Linked DNA regions of Homo sapiens: regions 1, 2, 3, 4 and 5 are each linked to region 6. The links are contacts of gene promoters, found by promoter capture Hi-C in blood cells and fetal thymus (Javierre and others, 2016). All regions are on one chromosome and are shown on one strand. The core of a region is centred on a gene start or on the middle of the fragment in contact, and the rest is flanking DNA. Distances in the headings are between cores, read along the strand shown. Region 1 overlaps DLG2 (discs large MAGUK scaffold protein 2). Region 2 overlaps CREBZF (CREB/ATF bZIP transcription factor). Region 3 overlaps SYTL2 (synaptotagmin like 2). Region 4 has its middle 5.8 kb from the start of PICALM. Region 5 holds the start of DLG2 (discs large MAGUK scaffold protein 2). Region 6 holds the start of PCF11 (PCF11 cleavage and polyadenylation factor subunit).

Region 1 (4,353 bases), core at 1,392-3,891, 2.4 Mb after region 6:
CCATTAGTCAGTTGATTCTCAATAATATTTTTATTGGTTTTTACCAAATTCTTGTATTCATAGCCAACTTAGGGTTATAACTGATGAATGAGTAGTTCCAACATATATGTGGTTTGATTATGTTGTCATATTAATAAAATGAAAATAAAACAACAAAGATAGTTTTTGTGAAAACCTCACTCAATTATGTTATTTGTTTACTGAATCAGATAATAATTTTTGAATAGTGGACAAATATTTCCTCAATTTCTGTACTAATATCAATGTAACAGCAACAGACACAAAATGCTTTTAACTTGCGCTTAAATTATTAGTATTTACTTTATCACTTTCTTATCAGCAAAACAATAAATCAAGCCCAAATTTGTAGCATTTGCAATTTCCAAAGTCTAAATATTCCCACCATGGCCAATTTCAAGGTACCAACATGATGTCTCTGAACATGGATCTGAGAAAAGATGCACAGCAGCATACCATTATGTAGCTTATCCACCGCACAAATACAATCAATGTAAATAACTCAAGAGCAGAGATGGTATGAAAATGAAAAATAATTAAGAATTGATGACTGTTGAGTATTTATTACTTTTTAATATAATTTAGTTAAGTTTATGTGTAATTATTTTTGTTAGTGATGGGGTCTCCCTACATTGCCCAAGTTAGTCTTGAACTCCTGACCTCAAGCAATCCTCCTGCCTTGACCTCCCAAAGTGCTGGGATTACAGGCATGAGCCACCATGCCTGGTCCATAGTTTATGCATAATTTTTAAGTGGTTGAGTTTAACTTTTTTTTTTTTTGAGATGGAGTCTCACTTTGTTGCCCAGGCTGGAGTGCAGTGGCGTGATCTCGGCTCACTGCAACCTCCGCCTTCTGGGTTCAAGCAGTTCTCCTGCCTCAGCCTCCTGAGTAGCTGGGACTACAGGTGTGTGCAACCACACCCAGCTAATTTGTGTATTTTTAGTACAGACAGGGTTTCACCACGTTGGCCAGGATGGTCTTGATCTCTTGACCTTGTGATCCACCCACCTCGGCCTCCCAAAGCACTGGGATTACATGTGTCAGCCACCGTGCCAGGCTTTAACATTTTTGAAATGGCTGTATTGTCTTGCAAATTTGCTGAAAATTTAATGATAAGCTCTTGCAAGCTGACATGAGCCGTCTCCAGCACACCATTATTTCCAGGGCAGCACTCTCTCCCAGATTGTTTTCCCACTTCATGGATGCCCTTTCTCAATCACATTTATTAGTTCCCTCTAATTTCTCAATGAGGGCTTAAGATGTTTAGAATACCTCTGAACATGGTAAGACTTCTTTAATCTTACTCCCTGGATAATCTTACCCAGTTTCCTTGATAATCTTATCTAATTCCGTAGTTTTAAATATTACCAGCACCCTCAAGACTTCCGAATGTATATCTGTAGCTCAGAACTTTACTCTGAATTCCAGACTCATATCCAGCTGAATGCTCAACATTTCCATTTGGATGTCTAATAAGCATCTCAAACTTCACTTGTCAAAACTGAACTCCAGATCTTATCCACCCACCCTCAGTCTGCTTCTCCTCCAATGTATCTCCATCTTTCACCCTTCCAATTATTCAGACCCAAATTCCTGAAGTCAGCATTCATTCTTTTCTCTAATTCTCTACATCTATCCATCAGTAAATCCTGTGGGCTCCAACATCAAATTATATGCAGAATCCCATCACTTCTCCCTACCTCCAGTGCCACCACCCTGGCACAACCCATCATCATCTATCCCCTACATTACTGCAATGTTCTACTAGTTTACATGCTGTCACCTTTGCCCTCCTACAGTCTTTTCTCTTTTTTTTCTTTTTTCTTTCTGTCTTTGTTTGTTTGTTTTGTTTTTTGTTTTCTTTTAAGCAGGATCTCTCTCTGTCACCCAGATGGGAATGTAGTGGGGCAATCACTGCACATTTCAGCATCAGCCTCCCAGGCTCAAGTGATCCTCCCAAATCATTTTTTGAATTCTGATTTTTTTGTAGAGATGAGGTCTCACTATGTTGCCCAGGCTGGCCTACAGTCTTTTCTAAACCCAATAGCCAAAAATATCCTTTCAAGTCATCAACTAGATTATGTCATTCCTCAACTCAAACCCTCCAGTGTCTCCCCATCCCACTCAGAGCAAAGGCCCACCTCTCTGACTTCAGCTCTTAGACCTCTCCTCTTGCTCAATCTACTCCAACCACAGTATGCTGTTTCTCAAATATATCAAGAACTCTCCTATATCATGGCCTCTATACTTGTGATTCTGCCTATAACACTCTTCTCTCAGGTATCCATAAAGCTTGCTCCTTCACTTCTTTCATATCTCTGCTTATATATCATCTTAGTAGTAAGGCCTTCCCTAATACTCCTATATAACATAGCAAACTTCAAGCTTATCCCCTTGAAGGAAATGAGAATTTCAATTGGGCAATAAGAGATGGAGGAGGACATTGCGTAACTACTCCTCTTCTATCTAGTAAGATTAGAAATATAGAAATAAATGTGGATGAACAGAGAGCTCACTCCAATTTATATTAACAAAGAATGGTGATATAAATGTGTGCTAATATATTTGCATAAACTTTAATTTTTAAAAATGATTTCACACTTTACTTGCGTAATGTTTTAACAACTCTGAATCAAGGACAAATATTTTAATCCCCATTTTGTCAATAATTAAACAATCAGCAGTTTCCCCAAAATGATGGTGGCTCACTTTCTAACCCATCCCTACACACTATTTACAAATATAAATAGTTACTTTACTTACCACTGTAGGTGATCAACAATACAATAATTATACTATACCTCTCTCTCTACTTATATGTATCTGTGGGCTCTAATCACGTGATTACCTCTAGTGCCCAAAGCTTTAGTCTTTTTCATTTCCTCATTAAAGTCTGCCGACATTTTTCGGGAAACCTACAAGTGCTGAGCACCTTTTTCTTTTCTCTCTCTTTTTTTTTTTAATACAATTATAACTAAAGCCTTTTTTTTTAAGCTTCTGTGGCATTGTTGTAGGTATTACCCTAGTCGTTTATTCTTTTAAAGGGCAATTCTTGGCCAGGCACGGTGGCTCACACCTATAATTCCAGCACTTTGGGTGGCCAAGGTGGAAGGATGGCTTGAGACCGGGAGTTCGAGACCAGCCTGGGCAACAGAGCAAAACCCTTTCTCTACAACAAAATTTTAAAATTAGCCAGGTGTGGTGGTGCACGTCTGCACTCCCAGCTACTCAGAAGGCTGAGATGGGAGGATCATTTAAGCCCAGGAGTTCGAGGCTTCAGTGGGCCACCATCCTGCTACTGCACTCCAGCCTGGGCTACAGAGTGAGACCCTGTCTCTAAATAAATAAGTAAAATACCCTGTCTCTAAGTAAATAAGTAAAATTAAGAGCAATTCTCAAAAATGTATTAACAATATTCCCACAATCACATCTACAAATATAATTAGATAAGTAAGGGGAATTTCACTCACTCATTTAGCATATATTTATCCAATAACTATAAAGGGAAAATACTGTATTGATTCAAAACAGCTAGATGTTTTCTAAACCAGCAGAGCTTACTATGCCTCTCATCGCTGTAGGATAAAAATTTGACACATAAAAAATGCTAAAATATTTTTAAAAGGTCGTATATAATCAAGTCTCCAAGTTAGGCTTTCACACACCAGCATCTAGGGCTGGAATTGTGGCTGCCCTTTTATGCTGCTTTTGATTATTGAGAATGATCATCACCTGGAGTCAATTCTATTATGCTCTTCAACTCTCTCTACTCAAATCCTTATTTCTGGTTAATGAAAGTTTGAAGGTAATCTAAAAATGACAAATTAAACAAATGAGACAAATGGCAAGGATCTTTTCATACAAATTAAAAATCCCTAACCTAATCTCCATAAATTGAATAAAGTGGAAAGCTGAGATAATTATCCAAGCAAGTCAAGATTCATATTTTAATTGATGTTCAAATAACCAAGTGGAGAATTTTTCATCTAAATTGCCTCAATTCTCCTGTTTTCTTCATTAAACTCTACCTTCATAAGACTCCTGAGTCTACAGGAAAAAAAAAAAGCTAAATTTGGATTACTTGAGGGCAGGCACAGGAGGAAATGGGGGGGAAGGGAGAATCACTTTTTAAAATAAGAAATTTTTGCATGAAATATGCAACCAAGGGATAGTGAATGTTACATAATTAGAACTGTAGGTAATCATGTGTCTGTTAATTAAGGTTCAACTCTATATTGTACATGGTTTAAGAATAGCATCACCAGAAAGTTATAAATAATTTGGGACAGGTAATTTAAATTTGAAACAGTGATTGGCAATAGTGCTAACAAATG
Region 2 (4,454 bases), core at 74-2,573, 2.5 Mb after region 6:
GAAAGACAGAAAAATATATATAACATTTAAAGGGCAAAACAATATAGCTGTTTATTTTACAGGCTAAAATATCAAGATGAAAAGCTCTGATCCCAAATCATCCATTTTACCTATATTCTGTCACTTTTACTAAAAGCAGAGTTCTACTCATCCCAGTGAAAAAAACAATGAATTAAAAGTAATTTCTGGCGTTAACCCAAGTACCGAGTTAAGACTCCTTAAGAATATAGAATTATGTAATCAACTTAGATAATTCAAAGCCCAATGATATAACTAAGTTCTTTGACGATTGAGCACACATTGTTTCCTTACTTATCTTTAAACATTCCTAGTCCAATTACTCCCTAGCATAATACCATTTATAAATGAGGATGAGTTTACAATGGTTTCTGTAACCAAAAAGTATTTCTAATATCTGTCCTCTGCCACATATTTTTAAATTATCTTTTCCATTAGCAGAAATGGGCAACATAAGCAATAAATCATGTTAAGTCTGTTGCTACAAATTTACTTTGCCAAAATTTTTGTTCAGAGGGCAGATATCTGCATTATTTAAGGACATTTAGTCATTTGTAGCTAACACCTGAAGTAAACTACCCTCAATCAATTTTTATATTTCAGTCTAGTCACTGTAGACAAACTATTTAAATCTTTTATAATTTACTTTGTGTAGTTATTTGGCTTAAAAAAAAAAAAAGAGGGCTCACATTCTATTTAAATTAAGACAATATATTTTATAAAGCCCAAATTATAGTACACTAAGAGCCAGAGGGGTCTAGGGAATTGATCTCAGTGGGTATACAGCAAAGACAAAATTTGGAGGCAGACGCTAAAGGAAGTTGAGATAAATAAAATTCAAATCAGTGTATTAACAGAACTACACAAATGTTTACAACACAGTAACTACACTTTTCAATTAGTTCATTGTGAAAACTGAGCAAAATATTTTCAACAATTTTGGGTCAACAAAAAGTATGGAATATTTTAAGACAATAAAGAGTGACTGGTGTTGAGAGTACTGAGGCTACACAGAGGTACTGAAATTCAAATCTGAAAAATACTGTGCTGGCCACACAACACTACAAATTTCTAATGGAAGAATTCCCTTTTTGATCCGCAGCTTAGGTGGTAAGTAAATAAAAAAACAGCTCAGAAAAACAGCAAAAATATTAACATTTAGGAGTCTCAAAACTTTGTATTGGCTGTGAGTCTGGGGGAAAAAAACATAAATGTCATACTACCAATTAAACTTTCAAGAGTCATCAGATTATTTAGCTTTAAAATTTTACTAAATCAGACCTTAAACTACACATTCAAAATGCTGAACTAGATAATCACATATTAAAAAGGTAATGACTCATTATCAGTGAATTACCCAGTCTGTTCTATCAAAGTAGTAGTTAAGGTCACCAAATAATGTTGGTGCCTTTGGTTCTGGAATTATAACTAGCTGTACTGTAGGAGCATCAGCGCCTAAGTTTTAAGCCAGTGGGAATACTCTGCTGCCTGGCTTCACAGGCACTGAATACACTTAAAATGGTAAGAAACTGAATGGATTTAATAAGTTTTGAATAATACAATAACCAACTGTATATTTATTATGAAGTAAAAGCCAATCTCCTACCCAATCCCTCTTCTATCAGCTGCACATTTCCAAGTAAGTGAGATAAAATGACTCAATCTAAACCACGTGAAGGAATGTATTAACATAATCCAACAAAAATGAAATAAAACAATCCAGAGTTTTGAGTGTTTTTTCACACTTGTAATAAACTGAAAAAATATTTCAATTAAAACAACCATATGCCACAAAAAGCCACTCCCATCATCCACAATACTAAAGTCCTTATACAACACTAGATAAATTTTTATATAAAACAGTAGAAACTAGCATACCATTAATTAGAAACCTCAAAATATTCAGAAAACAGTATCAAGTACTCAAGAGAAAGCTCAAGAAGCCAAAACCTCAAGAATCCATACATCCTGGTTGTTACCCTAAATTGTAATTAACTACCCACACATTTAATCATAATCAACTTTTTCAAAGATATACAAATCAATGCATCTATTTAAAAGGACTACTCTTTATAGTTCAGAACTTTACATTAACTTTTATATTCTACTCAGCAGGGTGTCTGTCTGTACTCCAAATTAGCTCTCATGTTCCAGGAAATAAATACAAACTCATATGCCTTGTGATCACTGATGGCCTGCTTATGTAATTCTAGTCCACTAAATGTTAATTCCATAGAATATGCTCTTGATTATGTAAAAACTCTAATTTCTTGATGAAATACTGTAATTCTCCAAAGGTTACAATTTTGTAAAGATATGCAATAACTGAGTATCACTCCCATGAAAGACAAAAAAAGTATAATTTTGTTCCAAGATTAACTTAGTCTCATGTATCTCTATTAAGTCTTTCAAGGATTCCAGAGAATCTTTTCATATCTCCATTTCTGGAAAGTGAAATCAGTATAGAAGTAATTTGGGAACTTGAAAATGGCATTCATTTTTTTCAGCAGATGCCAAATTTTTGACCGACATGGTTCTCACAATTACTTTGTTACCAACAGTCCAGTCAGTTAACAGGTTGTAGGAAAAGATTCGTTTTTGCAGACACTGCTAAGCTGTTCAAAGAGAAGAGAGAGAGATTAATTTAGTGATTATAAAATGCACAAATATTTAAAATATTTTGAACACTTCTTGTTGGATTATATCAGAGGTGTGACTACATTTTAACAAAAGTGGACTTTTTAAGATAAGTCTGGTCAAAGAAGTGCAGAAACAGTAAGTCAATATGATAGAAATAGTAGGTCAAAATATGATGTGTTAGTTCAATTAATGTATGAACTCCTGCCACCATCAAAAGACAAATATTAAAAAGCTACATCTTTAGTCTAGTTCTGTATTTTACCAGAGGCACATTTAGAAGAAAAACAAAAGGGTCACCCAAATACTAAATTGTTTTCAACCATTACAGTAAATAGAGCCAAACCTAGAAATTTCAAAAACAATCCATTTTATATTCCAGAAATCTCCTTTATCCATGTGCTAATCATCCAGAACACAATTTTCTAAAAATAGTAAGACAACAGTTTCACATTAATCATAACTTTTTTAATTAACAAGTAGTGAATCGGACACTTTAAGATATTGTTTACTACATACTGAAATAAACAGATCTGTTTAAATTCAGAAACCCAAACATTTACAGTAAAATGTGCTTACACATAAATATGACCAAATTTATTTAAAGCCCCTATTAGATAGATCCTAAGTACATGCAATTACCATGTAAAAACAAGACCATGAAGTTGATGTAAAAAATGACAAAATCACTAAGTCACCAAAACTAGAAAAAAAAAAATGAAATGGAAACTGAGAAAAGACAGTTAATAAAACATAAGGAACCTAACAAAGCAGCTTTAAAAATAGGCCATACTAATCCTTCCATTTTCAAAAGTTCTTATCAAGTAATTCCAAAAACTGCCATTTATAAAATGACATTCTAAAAATCTACACTTGGAATTTCAAAGTATCTCAATTCAGAAAGCTTTGACTACTGTTTCTCCCCAGCCCACAATTTCAAATAATGCAGGAAAAGTATTGACGTAAGGAAGAAAATACTCCAACAGAATGTTATAGTTTTTAGAAAAATGAACTTACTGCTTTCCAGAACCTTTTAAGACCCACAGTCAGCATTAACAATCATTTTTCCTATTTTCATCCATTATTTTCCAATATCATGTTAGAGATGAATAAATTCTTTGAGCCCATAACTAAAAGATCAACAAACCTGGTTTTATTATGACACCATATTTTTGTCATTGGTACTGCACAAAATTATATACAAAGAAATATATACAAAATGTTCAAGTATTAGTTAAATTTCAATTCAAGGCTTCTGTTTCAAAAAAGCTACATTTAACATATTTCATAAAGATAGCACAAATTAGTCATTTCAAATAATCTTTCCAACTACTTTTGGTTTATATATATATATATATATGTATATATATATATAATTCAGTAGGCACTAAAAACCCATGCAGCTGCATTGTGAGGGGCTTGCTCCTGCCCTTAGGTATAAGCAGGTTCATCACTCCAATTTGTGAGTTTGGCTACTACCCATTCATGCTCAAGTGCAGTAGTAGATGATTTTACAAAATATGCTGTGATGCACTGGAAACCAAAGACCAATTCAGGTCTCAAATCGTATTATCTAGCAACAAAACATTTACAGTTGTGCAAGAACAAGGATTCCATTTTCATAACCAAATAACAAAATAAAACATTTTATGTGTAAGATAACTTACATCTTTGGACTGCTGGAAAATACTTTTTAATTATGAACATGTTAAAAATAAAAAACAGCAGAAGCCCTGATATTACCTCTTTTTCCTCATTTCTTATACTACCTTTTAAAATAAAGCAGGAAATGTGGCCAG
Region 3 (3,849 bases), core at 406-2,905, 2.6 Mb after region 6:
TTGGGCGAGTCACCTGACTTGTCTCAAAGTCAACTTCCTGACACATCAAATGGGGTAATTATATCCCACTCCACCCACCAACCGCAAAAGAGTATGTGAGCTCATAAAAAATAATGGGCATGTTAAGCCCTTTGCAACTTGTTAAATACTGTCTATATAGAAGTTATTTTAGTAGTCATAATCAGACATTCTGTAGTGGTTGAAGTGAATTCTAGCATGTTCTTTTATAAATCATCCACGTTAAATCAGTGTCAAGATACGGAAATGGTAAAAATAAAGCCATTATTCATGGTCCTGTGTCCCAGGAAGTAAGAACATATCTTATGCTCCTTTTGGATAACTCCTGGAGCGAGAATCATAAAATTAATAATACTAACTTACATTCAGGAAGCCTGTCGCTGCCTTCAAAGCCCAAGATTACACAGGCAGTAAATGGCAGGGCCTGGACAAAGTCAAGTTCTTCAGCATCCTGGCCTAGTGCTTGTTTGACAACAAAGGTGAATGAAAGTGGCAGGAATGTTGACATGGAACATTTGGGTTCCACCCAACAAGAATAGTGTATCAAAGTTGCCACTCCTCTTTATGGGACCCAAGACAAATGAAAAATTGGCTCAGAGAATACTTTCAGTTGCCATTAAAACCAATTCCAACATTTCTGAAAGCATGCAGAAATGTGAGCTAGTTTAATTTATTTTCTTTTCAAAATTCTAAAAATTTTTTAAAATTCTAATTTGGTTCATGATTCAGTTAAAAAAAAGTAGATCCAGTTTTTTTAAGTGGATAGAAATACACACACACACACAAATGTAGATGTATGTGGTTGTATACATTTCATTTTTATCTCAGTATTTAATAAGTTAAAGGAATTTAGTTAGGTTTTTAATCAAGACCCTATTTCTGGTAGGAGTCCAGTAGGATAAATTAAGAGGCACCAAGAGGAAAAATGTTTTGTCCAGGAAGTAAACCTAAAATTGGAATCCATAAATTCAGTCTTCGAGTCAGAACTACCACTTATAGTTGAAAAAAACCCCAGTGTCCTATTTTCGTACAGACTGCCTCTTCCTTCCCTCATGCCCAAGGCTTCTCTGGCCTCTTACCTGACTCTCTCTTCTTCGGCCCTCTTCAGAGCAGCATCCCGCTGCAAAACCTTCATGATGGCCTCTTGTTCCTCTTCAGTCAGGAAGCTTAAGTCAATCATTTTGAAAAGTGCATGCAAAAATAATAGCAACAAATGTGGCTCAAAATTCTCAGGGCTGAACAACTAAGACTGCAACCAGGAAGATTAAAACACACAAAAATGAAATATCTTGTTCAGTTCTGCATCAAAGTCTTATTTTGGCTCAGCAAAAGTTTAGGGCAGCTGATAGCAAGATCCTAAGTGCTCTTTCCCATGAGGAAGTCCTGGTCTGTGGGATAGTGTCGAGAAGAGGCTCTCAGAAGGATGCTGTATTCCTTGCCAAACAGGTCGCTTGTTCCTATGGTGGCTTCCAGCACACTCACTCTCTGGTCCAGTCTTAGACACAGTTTATTCTCTCTCTGCACCTGTCGTCAATTCATAAGAGGCAGCAGCATCAGAGCATCACCTACCTGGGGAATCATGAGACAGCAAACACCAGACAGTGAGAGGCAGTTCCTATAAGCACTACTCATTACTACAAGATTTTTAAATGGCCATGCGAGATGGTCTCTGAGATCAAGGAAACCAGTTCAGCCAGCTTCCTGAGCAAATGGTAAATGGGTCATGAAACATGCTTCAACCCTATTCCAGACGGCCAAGATGGAGAACCCACAAAAATGCCTGTCAGTGTTTAACGATCCACCTGAGTAAAGGATGGTTGCAAAAATGAACTGGTTCTCTCTCTGCAAACTCTGGGGATGCTAGGCTAAAAAGTCATGTTAAAGGTCAGTAAGATCAGGGATATGTGATTCCAGTGGTCAAGCAAGAATCTAGAAATAAAAATTTTAAATGCTCACCTCTTCACAAGTAAGAATATTCCACTGTACTATATATGTGCTCCATATTAACAGGAGAACTAGTATTAGATAGAGATAGTTTGCAGAAGAGTGAGAATTGTTATTCTTCATCCAGTCTCACTGCTAACCTTTGCTGGACCTAGAGGAACCTAACAAGCTTGTCTACTTTCATTTCTCAGGGGAAAAACACCTACCTGTGTGTGTATATAAACTGGAGGAAAGGAAGAGGCAGAGTTTCAAAACACCTCACCATCCAAAGTGAGGATTTTTCAGTTGCACAATGTGCAAGAATCCTATTTTCTTTGAGGCATCTTCAATACATATGTAATGGGAAGGAAGTGAGAAGTGAAGAATGACACAGCCCTACAGAAATTCGGAGGTGATCCACTCAAGGTTGGGGCACTTTTAACAAGTGCAGTGCTGAACATACACACTAAAAACCTTTAGTAAATTTTAAAGCAGGCTGGGTGCAGTGGTTCATGCCTGTAATCCTAGCACTTTGGGAGGCCAAGGTGGGTGGATCACCTGAGGTCAGGAGTTCGAGACCAGCCTGACCAACATGGTGAAACCCCGTCTCTACTAAAAAATACAAAAATTAGCTGGGTGTGGTGACACACGCCTGTAATCCCAGCTACTCAGGAGGCTGAGGCAGGAGAATCTCTTGAACCCGGGAGGCGGAGGTTGCAGTGAGCCGGGATCACACCACTGCACTCCAGCCTGGGTGACAGAGTGAGACTCCTTATCAAAAAAAAAAAAAAAGAAAGAAAAAAAAATTTTAAAGCAGCCCCACTTAAGAATAAAACAGTATGTACATTAGTGAATAAAATTTATAAAAATTAATTACTTGAAAAACAGAATTACTGGGAAGTTATCCTTCTACCACTTACTAGCTATAAGTCATTGGGCAAGTTACCGACCACTGTGAAGCTGTTTTCTCATTTGTGCTTGACATTAGGATGTCCCTCACAGATTGTAAGGATTAAATGAAATAATGAATATAAAAAGAGCACATGTCTTGCATTCTGTACCAAAAATAGCTACTAAAACTATATTCTAGCTTCCGCTCTGAGTTCACACTTTTTTTCCATCCAGCTGAATAAGACTATACTTAGTAATATATTTCTCTTTTGTATTATGTCTCTTTCTGATCTCCCCCCATGAAGTTTGGGCTTCATTGACAGGGAATCTAATGACCTTTGTTTTAATTTCCTCTAGCTCTCTGCATACTGTCCACAGTAATTACTCAAATAAATATTAAGACATTACTTCATTTTCTTTTTAATTTGCATGTGCTTGCATATGCTACTACCTGCTTGTTCATCTTGAAAACTACTTACCCTTCAAGACAAATCAAAGTTACCACCTCCATGAAGCCTTCCATAACTTCCATACCCCAAGTTAAAGTTGCAGCAGATTCAATGATTATTCCTAACTCTTCATTTCCTCCCTGTAACAGAACTATACTATCATGTTCCCACCAGAGTAAGCAAAGAATTCATCCCTATCCTCCTAATGTTGGGCTTGGCCTGTGACTCGCTTTGGCCAATGGAATGTTAGCAAATGTGATGCAAGCATAGGCTGTAAATGTGCTTTTGTGGTTTGATCTGGCTTCTTGTATTCCTGCCACATGCCATGAGAAGAGCTTGTCCCAGTTATTCATTGCCTCTTCATCCTGGGTTCCAGAAAGAGATAAAAGGACAGACCTGAACCTGACCTCCCTGAAGCAGGTATCCCTGCTGACCTATAGATATAAAAGAAAAAACTAAGTATTTGTTGTTGGAAGCCACTGAGGTTTGGGAGTTGTTATACGATACTCCCGCAGCAGGAACCTGCTAATACAAACACTTTCTCCTCCAAATACACATCCACTGCTGT
Region 4 (4,349 bases), core at 1,527-4,026, 2.9 Mb after region 6:
AACTAAAAGGTATGTTGTAGAGAGGCAGGGAGTGTTCGGAGAAGGAGCAGGTTTTTTTTATTGCCTCCTATGTGCTAAAAACACTACATTTTAAAAATGTAATGCTCATAACAATAATTTCAAAAAGTATCATGTCCAAGTATCGTGCCCATCCAATACAAGAAAACAGACAAGTCTTGGAAATTTTTTTTTTTTTTTTTTTGAGGCAGTCTTGCTCTCTTGCCCAGGCTAAAGTGCAGTGGCATGATCTCGGCTCACTGCAAGCTCCACCTCCTGGGTTCACGCCATTCTCCTGCCTCAGCCTCCTGAGTAGCTGGGACTACAGGCGCCTGCCACCACGCCTGGCTAATTTTTTGTACTTTTAGTAGAGACGGGGTTTCACTGTGTTAGCCAGGATGGTCTCGATCTCCTGTCCTTGTGATGCGCCCACCTCAGCCTCCCAAAGTGCTGGGATTACAGGCGTGAGCCATCGTGCCCGGCCAAGTCTTAGAAATTGAGTAACTTTCCAAAATCCCACAGATACTAAGTGGCAGAAGCAAGATTTAAAAAATAATTATCCTTCCAATACTCTGCCCAGACCCTTTAGCCAGTACTTGAAGCAACTGCCAATATAGACTAAATTTATTCAACAGATAGTTCTTGCCTTCCTGCCATGTGCCAGGCTTTTCTAGACGCTATGATAAAATAATGTGCAAGACAAACAGGGCCTCTGTTCTTAGAGATCTTAGTGTCTAAGTCTTAACAAAGGAGAAAATAGGTAAAAGTATGCTGCACCTGAGGAACCTTAAGTCATCGTCAATGACTTAAGAAAGTGGCAGAGAAAAGGAATATGGAAGAGAGAATTGACCAGAATTTTTACTTTTATTATAACACTTTGTTATCTAAATTATAATCTTTTGATATTAAGCTAACTAAACTGATATGAACACATGGCAAACCCTTCCCCCCTCACCTTTCTGTGTTTACACTTCCTGATGCTGCCAAATCAGTTAGAGATCATAACTTCACATAACCTTAAAAAGGTAAGGACTTTTCTTCATAGCTAAGTTCCCTTGCTAGAACCTCTAAACAAATAAAGTCATGTGCCGCGTGACATTTCAGTCAACAACACACCACAGATACAGTGGTGGTCCTATAAATTATAATACCATATTTTTACTGTATCTGTTCTATGTTTAGATATATGTTTAGCTACACAAATACCATTTTGTTACAGTTGCTTATAGTATTCAGTACAGTAATGTGTGGCACAGGTTTGTAGGTTAGGAGTAACAGGCTATAATATATAATCCTGGTGTGTAGTGGGCTATACCATCTAGGCTTGTGTAAGTGCACTCTGTGATATTCTGAAACCGACAAAATTGCCTAATGACACGTTTCTCAGCACTTACCCCATTGATATGTGATGTATGACTGTATTCCACTTCCAACTGCAGGAAACTTATTCAGGCTCCCAGAATACATATTTTTGACAATAATACATAACTTTGTTGATTACTTACCCTGTTCTAAGCATGTTACATACATTATCTCAGTTACACCCTAAAACAACTTCATGACCTTAAGTGGAGGAGACAGCAAACTGTGTCCTTTTCCCCCTGAGCACATAGTTAGACCACATTTCCCAGCCTCCTTTGCAATTAGTTGGGGTCTTGTGACTGACTTCTGTCCCACAGAATGTGGACAGAAATAATGAAAGCCATTTAAGGCTTGACCCATAAGGTCTCAAAAACCTCCTACAAATCTTCCACATTCTCTTTCTTTCCCTACTTGCGGGCTGAATGAAGACTTCAAAGAATCTAGAGAAGGTCAAAACCACAAAATGGAAGAAGCCTGGGGTCATAGATGAATCCTTGGAGGAATGCTGCCTGTGAGAACTGCATGACCAGAAACATAAATTATGCTGCTGGGCGCGGTGGCTCACGCCTGTAATCCCAGCACTTTGGGAGGCTGAGGCGGGTGAATCACCTGAGGTCAGGAGTTAGAGACCAGCCTGGCCAACATGGCGAAACCCCGTCCCTACTAAAAATACAAAAATTAGCCGAGCGTGGTGGCACGCACCTATAATCTCAGCTACTCGGGAGGCTGAGACAGGAGAATTGCTTGAACCCTCGGAGGCAGAGGTTGCATTGAGCAGAGATCACGTCGCTTCACTCCAGGTTGGGCGAAAGAGCAAAACTGTGTCTCTAAATAAATAAATAAAGCCCCTGAGATTTTTGATGCTGTTTGTTACAGTGATCAGCTACCCTACCTAATACACTTCTTTTCTCTCCATTTTACTGATAAAGAAATTAAAGCTTAGGAAAAGTTAAGTAACTTGCTTAAGCTTGCTCAGCTATTAGGTTGGGGAAGTAGGATTGGAGCTCAGATCTACCTAACTTTAGAGCTGGGCTCTCACTGCTTGTGTTCGTCGTGGAACTATTTCATGTACTTCTAAAATTTTCATAAAAATTCCATATGGCCCTTTAATACAAACTGCTACATCTAGCATGGCTACAAAAACAATAATCTGGGTAATCTCCAGCTTCTCTAACAAGTATGAGGCTCTCTTACTATCTTTAACACATTCCTGCCACACTTTCCTTTCTTTCAGATATATTACTTTTACAATTTCAAAATAACAATATGTTTGGACTTTTTTAGTTATTCAGAGATGATGTCTAGACTGGCGGTTAAATACAATCCTTCCCTTGAAAGGGAAAATTAACCAAACCTTGACCCTGAATCATCATAAAAAAACTGTCTAATTAGGCATGGTACAGTGGCTCTCAACTGTAATTCTGGCACTTTGGGAGGCCTCAATGGTAGGATCACTTGAGTCCAAGAGTTCTAGACCAGCCTAGGCAACATAGTGAGACTCCTTATCCACCAAAAATTTTAAAAATTAGCCAAATGTGGTGGTGTGCAGCTATAATACCAGCTACTTGGGAGGCTGAGGCAGGAGGATAGCTTGGGTCCAGGAGCTTGAGGTTACAGTGAGCTAAGATTGGGCCACTGCACTCCAGCTTGGGCAACAGAGTGAGCCTCTGTCTCAAACACACACACACACACACACACACACACACACACACACACACCACACACACAAACAACCTCCCTATGAAGCAGAATAAAATTAGTACACATGAGATGTTAACATACCTGGGGGCCATTTTTCTCTGTAACCTAAGAGGATGAATCAAGTAAAAATGTATTAGAACATGCAACATTGTGCTAAAATGAAATCAGAAGCTTAATGCTAATGTTAATATTGGGATATTGAGTTTTGACCAGTAGTTGTCGGAAAAATGAAGGAGATTTATTAATTCATTTGAAGCAATGGGAGACGTACTGAATTTGGAGTCAGACACATTAGATCTTGAACTTAGGTTCAAAACTCTGGGCAAGTTATTCACTTTCTAATACATAACGCAGGGATAATAGTAAATATCTTGCAGATTTCCTGTTAGGATTAACATAACGTATACAAAAAAACTGGTGCAATGCTTGACACACAGTTGTCACACCAAAAATAAGATTAATCAATATTTACCCAGGATTTGCTATGAGCAAAGTACTCTGCTACATTCTCAGGATACAGAGATGACTTAGACAAAATGCCAACGCAGTGTGTTAAGTACTATGATAGAGGTGTTGCATGCAGTATTAAAAGAACAGAGAAAAGGAACACTGAATTCTGCTTGGAGGAATCGAGGGTTTCCCAGGGGCATAAATTGCCATGTTCTTCTTTATATGTTTATCCTTTTGGCTTTGCATCTTTATCCTCTTGGCTATCTTATTCCCCCTCTTCTGGATTAAGGTCTTTGATTGTTAATGAACACCTTTGTCCTTTACTCATGGTATTCCCAAGACATTTGACAATTAACAAATATGGGACCAATTCTTCATACAGCAGTAAGGTTGAACAAACCCTACCCAAATTAAAGGGTAAAAGACACTTGATTATATAAGGAAGATCTAAATGGATTATGGCACATGCTTCCATTGTCCAGTTTTGAAAACCTGGGACTATGGCTTTGAAATACCCTGTGAACTCTATAATCATCTTTGTCTTAGTGTCTGTCTGCATTGCAGTTACTAGATATATGATCATCAGAGTCTTGAATGCTGCTGCACATCCACTGTTAAACTAGATAATTTACAGATGTTCATTCAACAAAAAGGATGAGAAGGTTTCATAAAGAGGTCAAAATAACTACCATGAAAAACTCAATACACCATTGCAACTTATTAAATAGCAATGCAGATCTGGACTGATCACGTCCCAGGTAATGATGGTGTTTCTTCCAGCTTGGGTTGAAGATTGGCTGAAAGAAAGGAGACTGAGAAATGAAGCAAAAACTATAATG
Region 5 (4,190 bases), core at 1,691-4,190, 2.5 Mb after region 6:
TCAACAATGAATAAACACTTGGCTCAGTGAGGATAGTTATTGTTTAGAATCACATTAAGTCTAGCTTTTTCGTCATGTCTACCACATGAAACAATGAAGAGAGAAAAAGACTCAAGGTGACAGAGGACAGTGATCCCTGCAGAATAAATCTAGGTTAAACTTAAAAATACTGTTCTTATATTATATAAACAGTAGAGATAGTAAGCATAGCCAATGAAAAATACAATATACACATAACTTGTTTGGCTAGTTGTCTATAATATTCAAGAATATGTATCATAATACTAGCAGTTTTAAGAGATTAAAAGCAAGATACATTGTTTCTCTAGATCAGTTTATAAGGAAAATATACAACATATACTCTGGTATCATAGAAATATAAACTGGTTTTTCTAATAAGAACTTGTTGATTCCTTTAAAAATTCAATCCATTAGTCAATTCATTATTGAAGAAGGAAAGAAGAAAGGGAAGGAGGGAGGCAAAGGAAGAGAGGAAGAAGGAAAGAAAGGAAATTCTTCTAAAGTATTATAATTTCACCAATGTATCAGCAATTTCTGTAACAGTTCTTTAAAGGGAAGAACTTTTAAGAAACTCGGTTTATGGGGTTTAGAAACATTAAGTTCTAAACTTTCTAACTAAACCTGCTTAGTTAAGTTATACCTAGAATATCAATTGACCTTCCTCCTCTTCCTTCCCACATACCTTTTTATCTCTTTCTCTGTCTCTCCTCCTTCCCATTCTCTCTTCCTTTCACTCTTTTCCTCTCTGTCTCTCTCTCTCTCACACACACACGTAATGTGTTTAATTCCATTATTAGTTCAAAATAAGGTAATCCAAAAGAAACTCTCTAGAGAAATGGTAGAAAGAATAAAAACACACATCAACTTAAATATGTCAAAGAGCCATATCATTTATTGGCTACATTCCCAAAACCATTCTTGTTCTAGATAAACCAATTGTGTCTGGTCTGGACAAGTGTGGCTCCAAAATCTCAGGCAGTTTACTTCTGTCAGTGGTATTATTAGAAACAGCAGGGGGAGGAAACAATCCCAATCTTAAATCCCAGTGTGCAAATATCACAGTTCTAGGTGTTCCAAAAGTTTTATATATCATTGTCCATCTCTACAAATATCAGCTTGGATAAGGCATCTCAGTGATTATAAGTTTCCTCAACATCCCTAACAAATCCACAGGTAGAAGAATTAAACACCATGCAGAGATAAGTTCCACTTTAACCTGCAATTCACCCAGAGCTTTAGTTTCAGATTGTAGCAACTCACATAACTGGACAACATTTGGATCTATATTAGTCCAGTATAGCAGAGTTCAAGGCTGTTCATATAAGTTTTGATTCAAAACTCTTGAGAAACTCTTTACAGTTGATCTCACCTTCCATATAATGTCAAAACAAAACAAAACAAAAACAGTCCCAAACTAGGATCCTTTGGAACAAAGTTAACCTGGGGTGCATCTAAGCTAAACTGAATCCCCAAGTTCAGAATATAATCAACTATGCTTCAGGAATTCACTAGATCTTGATCAATTCCAATAATAAAAGTTGTTGAGGAGGGAGGAAAAAAACAGGTGTTTGCCCCATTTGGGGAACTTGACAATCATGTTATTGGATAATGCATATATCTGGAAAAGCACAATAGTCACGAAAGTTGTGCTTTATCACAAAAGTGAAGATTTACACTAGAATAAATCCAAATAATAAGTCTATTTTTTAACCAAAAGATAAATTATAAAGCTGTAATTTTGTTCAGTGCAAATGAAATTACTTTGCTACCTTTCACAATTCTGTAATTAGTTTGATAAATATTAAACCCATGAGGAAGAGCTCCACTGCACAAGTTTCTTTTTTAAAGACTGCTTAAAAGTAACCTTCAACAAGCTAAGAAAACAAGCTAAAGGAGACTCCAAATCTGCGGTACTGAATCTATTCTTATTACCAACGGTGATATAAACAACCTGATTTATGAAATCATAAATATCTATCAATAAATACTATAGTCTTGCTTCCTTTTACTTTAGTAAAATAATATTACTGAATTATGTACCACTGAAACTATATTACAATAAATATTTCCCCCAAACTGAAGCAAAACTTTACTCTCAAATGGAATATAATTTAAATTACAAGTACCAGAACCAACAAAAGGGAGAAATATTATATAGCAACCTTATGGCCCACCTGTCTTCTTGACTGGCATTCTTGGGTCTTTCCACTGCCACAGGAGTCAATATCTCTTTTCAGGTCTCAGTTTGATCCAGCTGGATTGAGGCCAAGAGCCAGGTAACTGTTGCAAACCACTTCAGTGTTCAGTTTTGAAATCCAGGCTGAGTCTTCTATGTCAGACAAAGAAAATAATGATGTATTTTTTCCACAACTAAACTTTTTACACCGCCCACAGAGTTTACAGCAACGTAATTTTTTAGTTTTTCAAGTTTTTCAATTTTCAGAAAATATTTAGACTGTTTTTACAAACTGGGAAAATTATTGTAAACATGAAGAACGTTACTGAAATTCCTCTTCAGGCAGCAACATTTTTGGAAGTTCAATGACTAACTCAATTAAGGCACAAACCAAATTTAGACAGGTCTCATTACTTTATACATGGTCAAATTCAAAGATGATGATAAAGATACTCAAATCTGTAGAGAAAAATGTAACCCCACCTCCCCAAAAATACTTTTAAAAATCTCTTTGACTCCAGTCTCTAAAAAGATAGGTGAGTTTGAACAGTTTTCTGTGGCAGAACACACATTGAAAGGCCCCCTTATATTTACTGATCAGAAGTTCCGGATCTCACCCCCTCAGTAACTCAGAATCCAGCTTGCTGTCCCTTTCATTTTTTTCTTCTGTGCTCTCCAAGCCCCCAGGCTTGATCCTTAATGCCCCTCTGATTCTGATCCTCCCATGTATTAACCGAGAGGATTGAAAAAAAAGGAAAGCAATCCCTTGGCATGGAGACATTAAAGTGACAGTGCTACTCAATGGGCACTTGATGCAGGATGAGTTGGCGAAGCAGATTTCTTCACACTGGAGTCATTCACATCATGCCATCTCTTCGCATTCAAGCAGCTCCCTATCCGGCGAGGAAAAACACTGAGACTTCGAGAGAAGCCAAACCTTCCCCCAAAGGTGTTTTCAGAGACGCCGTAGTAGTATTAGACATGTAAGCATAAGCTATGTAAACGGTCCGCGATTTCCTAAATGAGAAAGTGCAGCTGCTTGGCTTTCACATCCACCTTTTCTCTCAATCTCTCTTCAAACTACCCACCTTCCTTTTGCAGAAAAGACAAGACATTTCTTTGCCACCGCTGGCCACCCCTGCCCAAGCCCCGTTCTTTTAGGGAAGAGCACTGAAATGTCCTGCACCCTCCACGCGATGAAGTGTTTCCTCAGGCAGGAGCAACAGCAGCACTAGAAATTATATAACTCTCGAATTTGGCTTCTGTAAGACATGGAGACTGGAGGGTCGGGGGTTGCCGGTCTGGGAGATACTGCTGGGCATTTAACGTGCACAAAACAGCGCCAGGCCTTGCAGTGCCCCCCACCCCGAGACACGGCTGACAAGTGGGTCTTCTCGCGGGGGTAGTGGGCAAATTTCTCTCCGGTCTCTTTCCAAGCGGGGCTAAAGGATGCAAATTGAGGGGACTACAGACTGGGGAGAGGAGTCAGACGGCTGAGAGGAGAGGAGGCTAGTCGGGGCTGCTCTGACGGCGCTGGGCGGCTGGTCCGGGGTTTGGAGGAGGAGGTGCCCGAGAAACAGAGCTTTAACACCACACAGGCCAGGGCAAAGGGGCGAGTTCCCTCAAGGACTGAAAGGGGCAGGCAGCTAGTTCCCAGCTGCCCTGAGGAGAGGCAGGAGCGCAGTAACATTACAACATTCGGGCCGCCCCATCTTTCCCGCAGGACGCGAAGAGATCAGGGAGCTAAGCTGATAAATAGTCAGGGAAGGAAATACTCGGCTGGCGAGGGGGGCAGGCCCACAGGCGCCTGGACCTCCTCTAAGCGAATAAGTGGCCGTAATTTCTAGACGCCGCGCCCAATCACAGTCAGGATGGAGGGCGCGGCTTTTGACTGAGTGGGGGCGGGCCCGGGCTGCAATCGAGAGGCGTTGAGCCGTAAATCAGCACCACTTCCCGCCCAGGGCGTTCTGGGTCCCCGCCCACCGGCAAGTCA
Region 6 (4,368 bases), core at 1,865-4,364:
GGATTACAAGCGTGAGCCACAGCGCCCAGTCTATAAATTTTAAAGGAGTAGCTGGGATTACAGGCATACACCACCACACCCAGCTAATTTTTTGTATTTATGGTAGAAGACGGGGTTTTGCCATGTTGGCCAGGCTGGTCTTGAACTCCTGAGCTCAAGCAATCTGCCCTCCTGGGCCTCCCAAAGTGCTGGGATTACAGGCATGAGCCATGGCACCTGGCCTATGTCCTTTCTACTTTTGTGTTTAGTGTCCACATTTCTGTCTTTCTAATGATATAAAAAATTTACATGAGAAGAGTTATTGATTAGATACAACAGAGGTTTCTAAAATTTAAATTAAATTAAAAATTTAATTAATTTATTTTTTGATAATTATTACCACTCCCAGGCTGAGAGATTTTTTTAAAGGAGGAATTAACTCCTCTTGTAAATACTCTGTGAACCAAGGGAAGGGTATAGCTATTTTCCTCAAAAACAATGGAAATGCTTCATATTCTGCAGAAACACAATAATTAGTGGATTTGATTATTGAAAATAGTCCTGGGATACCACTGGTTCCTGGACAAATGTAGTACTTTTTCACATTACTACATGAGGTTATGATTGAGGTATACATTTCATGAAGGTATGGCCAAGGGGCTATCTTGTTCACCACTGCACCTAGCATAGAGATAGGAAATAACCGGGGCTTAATGTTGGTGGAAAGTAAATTCGTTGCATATTCTGATGAAAGAACTGGTAGTGAAAATCCATGAGAGAAGTTTTGTGCACTTATTTGTATTTAAAATTCCAGTTATCTAGTTTGTGCCCTGTCCTGAGTATTTAAAGAAAAAATGTGCTTGTTACAGTACAGCACATGATTTGAATAAGATTGCTAGTCTCTTGAGTTTTCCATGTCATTTGTGGGGACATAAGTTTGTTGATTTATGTGCTAAGATATATTAATTGTTTACTCTGTATATAGTCTGTGAGGGATACAATAAAAGCCAAATCAGAGCTTTGGAGCCTTTTTTTTTTTTTTTTTAGAAGTTCACTTTGCTGTTAAAAGAAAGTTAAAAACTGTAAAAGGCAGACATTTCTATAATGAAATTCACCTTTAAAATGAAAAGAAAATGAACAGAGGACTATTTCACCCTGGTCATTTCCCTCCAGAAAATAAAACCTTTGGACGTTATTAGTTGAAACTTTCTAGTATATCTAAATAGCACCACTAACAATAGTGTGAAATTATTGAGATTATAAATACTTATTTAACAATACTTCTTAGCTTCAAATGAGGGAAGACCAGTTTTCCTCCCCAGGTTTTACTTTTCATTCATGTGTGATATCATGCTAAGAAAAAAATGGAAAATACATGTCAAAACTTAACCTTTGCAGCACACTTTATGCAGTTCATTATGTTTCAATTAGACAACAATAAAGATGCTAAAAAACTCAAAGAAACAAAAAGAAGAAATGAAAATGTTACTTTATATGGGACAAGTAAAGAGTAGTTTGTTTGTTTGTTTGTTTTTTGAGAGAGAGTTTCACTCTGTCGCCCAGGCTGGAGTGCGGTGTTGCGATCTCGGCTCACTGCAACCTCTGCCTCCCGAGTTCAAGTGATCCTGCCTTAGCCTCCCAAGTAGCTGGAATTACAGGCGGCCGCCACCATGCCCGGCTAAGTTTATTTTTTAAGAGCAATTTCTTCTGGGGAGCAACAAATTATCTCTCAAATGCCTAGTAGCCTACGGAAGGCAATGGAAAAGCAATTTTAGGTAATTGACACTTTTTTTTTTTTGAGACAGACTCTCGCTGTCACCAGCCTGGAGTACAGTGGCGTGATCTCGGCTCACTGCAACCTCCACCTCCCGGGTTCAAGCGGTTCTCCTGCCTCTGCCTCCCGAGTAGCTGGGACTACTATAGGCGCACGCCACCACGCCCAGCTAATTTTTGTATTTTTAGTAGAGACGGGGTTTCACCATGTTGGCCAGGGTGGTCTCGATCTCTTGATCTCGTGATCCGCCCGCCTCGGCCTCCCAAAGTGCTGGGATTACAGGCGTGAGCCACCGCGCCCAGCCCGTAATTGACACATTTTAAAAGCTTATATTTAGGTCAATATCGCTACTCAATGAAAAAATTACGTTTGGTTTGTGTTATGTCGCAGCTCCACGGTGAACTATTTGAAAGCTTTGTGTGTTTTACGAGCATCATTTCCAACCTGGGAAGACAGCCCCACAAGTTTAAAACAAAAGTGCATGCGCGTGTGTGTTTTCCTACGTGCCCCAAATAGTGTATGCTAAGGAGGTTCTGAAATGCAGATTCACAGTGGAGATATTACGGTCCAGCTGGGTGTGGCTGTTGTGAAAAACTCTTCCTAGAGCTCATAGTGGGCTCCTTAAAGAGCTCCTCCAAACCCCCAAGGAAAAAGCCTTTCACACTTAATCTCTAAATAAAAGGCATTTTCCTGGGGATTCAAGTCAGGCAAGCTCGCCTAGGTATTTTTGTGGGTGTGGGAAGCGGCGTGCTGGAAGAAACTCTCCAGCAGTGCTTTCCGAAGTTCCGGGTAAATTGGGCACCTCCCTCCCACTTCCCAGTTCCCAGAGGGGCAGCTGGACCCGCCCTGGCTCTCCAGAGCACCTGAGACGCTAAGGGAGAGGGGGTGCGGCGGCAGAAAGCCTCCGCTCCCTCCAACCCCCGCTCCCTCCAACCCCCACCGTCGGTAGCAGCTACGGGGCAGGCGGGAGGAAAGATGATTGACAGGCCCGCTCAGTGGCTGGGAAGCTAGAGGGAGGGACGAAGAGGGGACGGCTGAGTCTTCTTCTCAAAGTGGTTGGGTTGGGCCGCGGGAACTGCCTTCCCAGGCCTATTGGCTTCCCTGAATGGGTTGTTATGGTAACAAATGACCGAACAGTCCCTTATGAATCGGCCAATGAGAAGGGCCGTCTTTTCCAGTGCGCCTCCGAGCAGTAGATGTTGCGAAAGTCCGGGTAGAGGCCGGAGAAGAAGGCGGTGCCAGGGCGTCCTGCGGAAGGGCCGGGGGCGGGGCTCGTGACGTTGCCGGGACAGCCAATCACGCCTGGTTTTATCAGTGGCCCCGCCCTTTTACCGCACATTTCCCCTCCCCTAGTTCATTTCGCACGACGCAGCGGTTGGGAACACAGACATTTTCGGAGCTGGAGCCGCCACTGCCGCCGCCATTTTGTGTCTGTGGAGAAAGAAGCTTCTGTGGCGGCTGGAAGTGGACGGAGATCACCCGCGAGACGGCGGCGTTTCATACCCGAGGTTCCCCCTGTGTCGTCCCCCATCCCCCCTCCGCGGTCAGCATGTGGTGAAGCCGGAGCCGCGAGAGAGCCGGGGAGAGGAAGAGGAGTCGGAAGGGAGGCGGGGTATCCAGAGCGGCTTCAGCTTCAGCTGCAGCGGACCTCGGAGGGGGGCCGCGGCGCAATGTCAGAGCAGACGCCGGCCGAGGCCGGTGCTGCGGGGGCCCGGGAGGACGCCTGTCGGGATTATCAGTCATCGCTCGAAGACCTGACCTTCAATAGCAAGCCGCACATCAATATGCTGACCATTCTAGCCGAGGAGAACCTGCCCTTCGCCAAGGAGATCGTCTCTCTCATCGAGGCCCAAACCGCCAAGGTTTTTATACACCCCGCAGCCTCCTATTACTTCTAATACTCCCTGATTTTAGTGTCAGCCTCATCCCAGGTCTCGCTTCCATCCCAAGGGGGACAGTGTTCCTTCTCTCCAACCCCCCCACCCCCCTCCAACTCAGGCTCGGTCTTTGGCCCAGGCTTCGAGCATGGGCCTCTGGGGGGGAGGGAGTGGGGAGGATAAAGGGTGGAGTCCCACTTCCGCTTTCCAACTCCCTTTTTAGGCCACCGCATTGTATATCCCGACACACACACGCTTTGAATAGAGCCCTTTGGGGTGGGGGAGACTTAAAGGCAGTTTGTGGTTTGGGGAAGTAAGAGTTAACATAAGCCATTTTAATTCCCTGGGAAGTGGGAGAGTGGGTCTCCCATTTTCCCCAAGCACCCTTTTTGGTAATTGTGTTCTGTGGGTTGGAAGGAGGTGAAGGGGGACCTGGGAGCGAGCTGTTGGTGGGTGGGAATAGGGATTTGGCCCCGAGTGGAGCAGCCGCCTGTTAGGAGCCCAACATGGCGCCTGAAAAGCACATGATGCGAAAGGGAAGAGAGGAGAATCCATTCCCTGCCAGCCAGGCAGCTGCTCACTCCCGTCAGCCCCATTTTGGGGTGGGGGCGGCTAGATAAAACTTTTATTCTCCTATTGGAGGGTCTAATTTGTCCCAAAATAGGGGCAAGTGGGGTTGAGGGTGGGGTTTGGGTGGGGGGAGGAGATCTTATCCAACCTGTAGGTGGAGAACTGGCC

Evidence for each region. The method cuts DNA at HindIII sites, captures the fragments that hold promoters and counts their contacts. A CHiCAGO score of 5 or more calls a contact.
Region 1: a fragment that was not itself captured here is called in contact with the fragment with the promoter of PCF11 in region 6 in 1 of 17 cell types (M0 macrophages); the score reaches 9.3 in M0 macrophages.
Region 2: a contact is called between a fragment that was not itself captured here and the fragment with the promoter of PCF11 in region 6, in 5 of 17 cell types (fetal thymus, naive CD8 T cells, non-activated CD4 T cells and 2 more). The highest score is 11.1, in fetal thymus.
Region 3: a fragment that was not itself captured here is called in contact with the fragment with the promoter of PCF11 in region 6 in 1 of 17 cell types (activated CD4 T cells); the score reaches 5.1 in activated CD4 T cells.
Region 4: a contact is called between a fragment that was not itself captured here and the fragment with the promoter of PCF11 in region 6, in 1 of 17 cell types (fetal thymus). The highest score is 6.6, in fetal thymus.
Region 5: a contact is called between the fragment with the promoter of DLG2 here and the fragment with the promoter of PCF11 in region 6, in 2 of 17 cell types (fetal thymus and erythroblasts). The highest score is 10.9, in fetal thymus.

Annotation. Positions count from the first base shown.
Region 1 is chr11:85,600,561-85,604,913 of GRCh38, forward strand. The region is part of intron 2 of DLG2 (discs large MAGUK scaffold protein 2); the gene reads right to left. Among named protein-coding and RNA genes, the nearest start is that of DLG2, 25 kb to the right of the region's middle. The HindIII fragment of the contact is 478 bases long and covers 2,403-2,880 here.
Region 2 is chr11:85,657,965-85,662,418 of GRCh38, forward strand. It overlaps CREBZF (CREB/ATF bZIP transcription factor), which reads right to left. Exons shown (of 1, transcript NM_001039618.4): 1 at 26-4,454. Among named protein-coding and RNA genes, the nearest start is that of CREBZF, 4.9 kb to the right of the region's middle. The HindIII fragment of the contact is 4,467 bases long and covers 1-3,557 here.
Region 3 is chr11:85,756,528-85,760,376 of GRCh38, forward strand. SYTL2 (synaptotagmin like 2) reads right to left here. Exons shown (of 20, transcript NM_206927.4): 2 at 1,098-1,587. The coding sequence starts at 1,198. Among named protein-coding and RNA genes, the nearest start is that of SYTL2, 53 kb to the right of the region's middle. The HindIII fragment of the contact is 947 bases long and covers 1,183-2,129 here.
Region 4 is chr11:86,072,756-86,077,104 of GRCh38, forward strand. No RefSeq gene overlaps it. Among named protein-coding and RNA genes, the nearest start is that of PICALM, 5.8 kb to the left of the region's middle. The HindIII fragment of the contact is 905 bases long and covers 2,325-3,229 here.
Region 5 is chr11:85,624,404-85,628,593 of GRCh38, forward strand. DLG2 (discs large MAGUK scaffold protein 2) reads right to left here and starts at 2,941. Exons shown (of 28, transcript NM_001142699.3): 1 at 2,815-2,941; 2 at 2,184-2,350. TMEM126B (transmembrane protein 126B) reads left to right here and starts at 4,190. Exons shown (of 5, transcript NM_018480.7): 1 at 4,190. RefSeq lists a silencer at 848-1,048 and enhancers at 2,987-3,495, 3,368-3,527, 3,608-3,657, 3,798-3,987. The HindIII fragment of the contact is 9,013 bases long and covers 1-4,190 here.
Region 6 is chr11:83,154,017-83,158,384 of GRCh38, forward strand. It overlaps PCF11 (PCF11 cleavage and polyadenylation factor subunit), which reads left to right and starts at 3,115. Exons shown (of 16, transcript NM_001346413.3): 1 at 3,115-3,615. The coding sequence starts at 3,424. RefSeq lists silencers at 2,691-2,770, 4,221-4,280 and enhancers at 2,971-3,020, 3,085-3,874, 3,171-3,420. The HindIII fragment of the contact is 1,033 bases long and covers 2,165-3,197 here.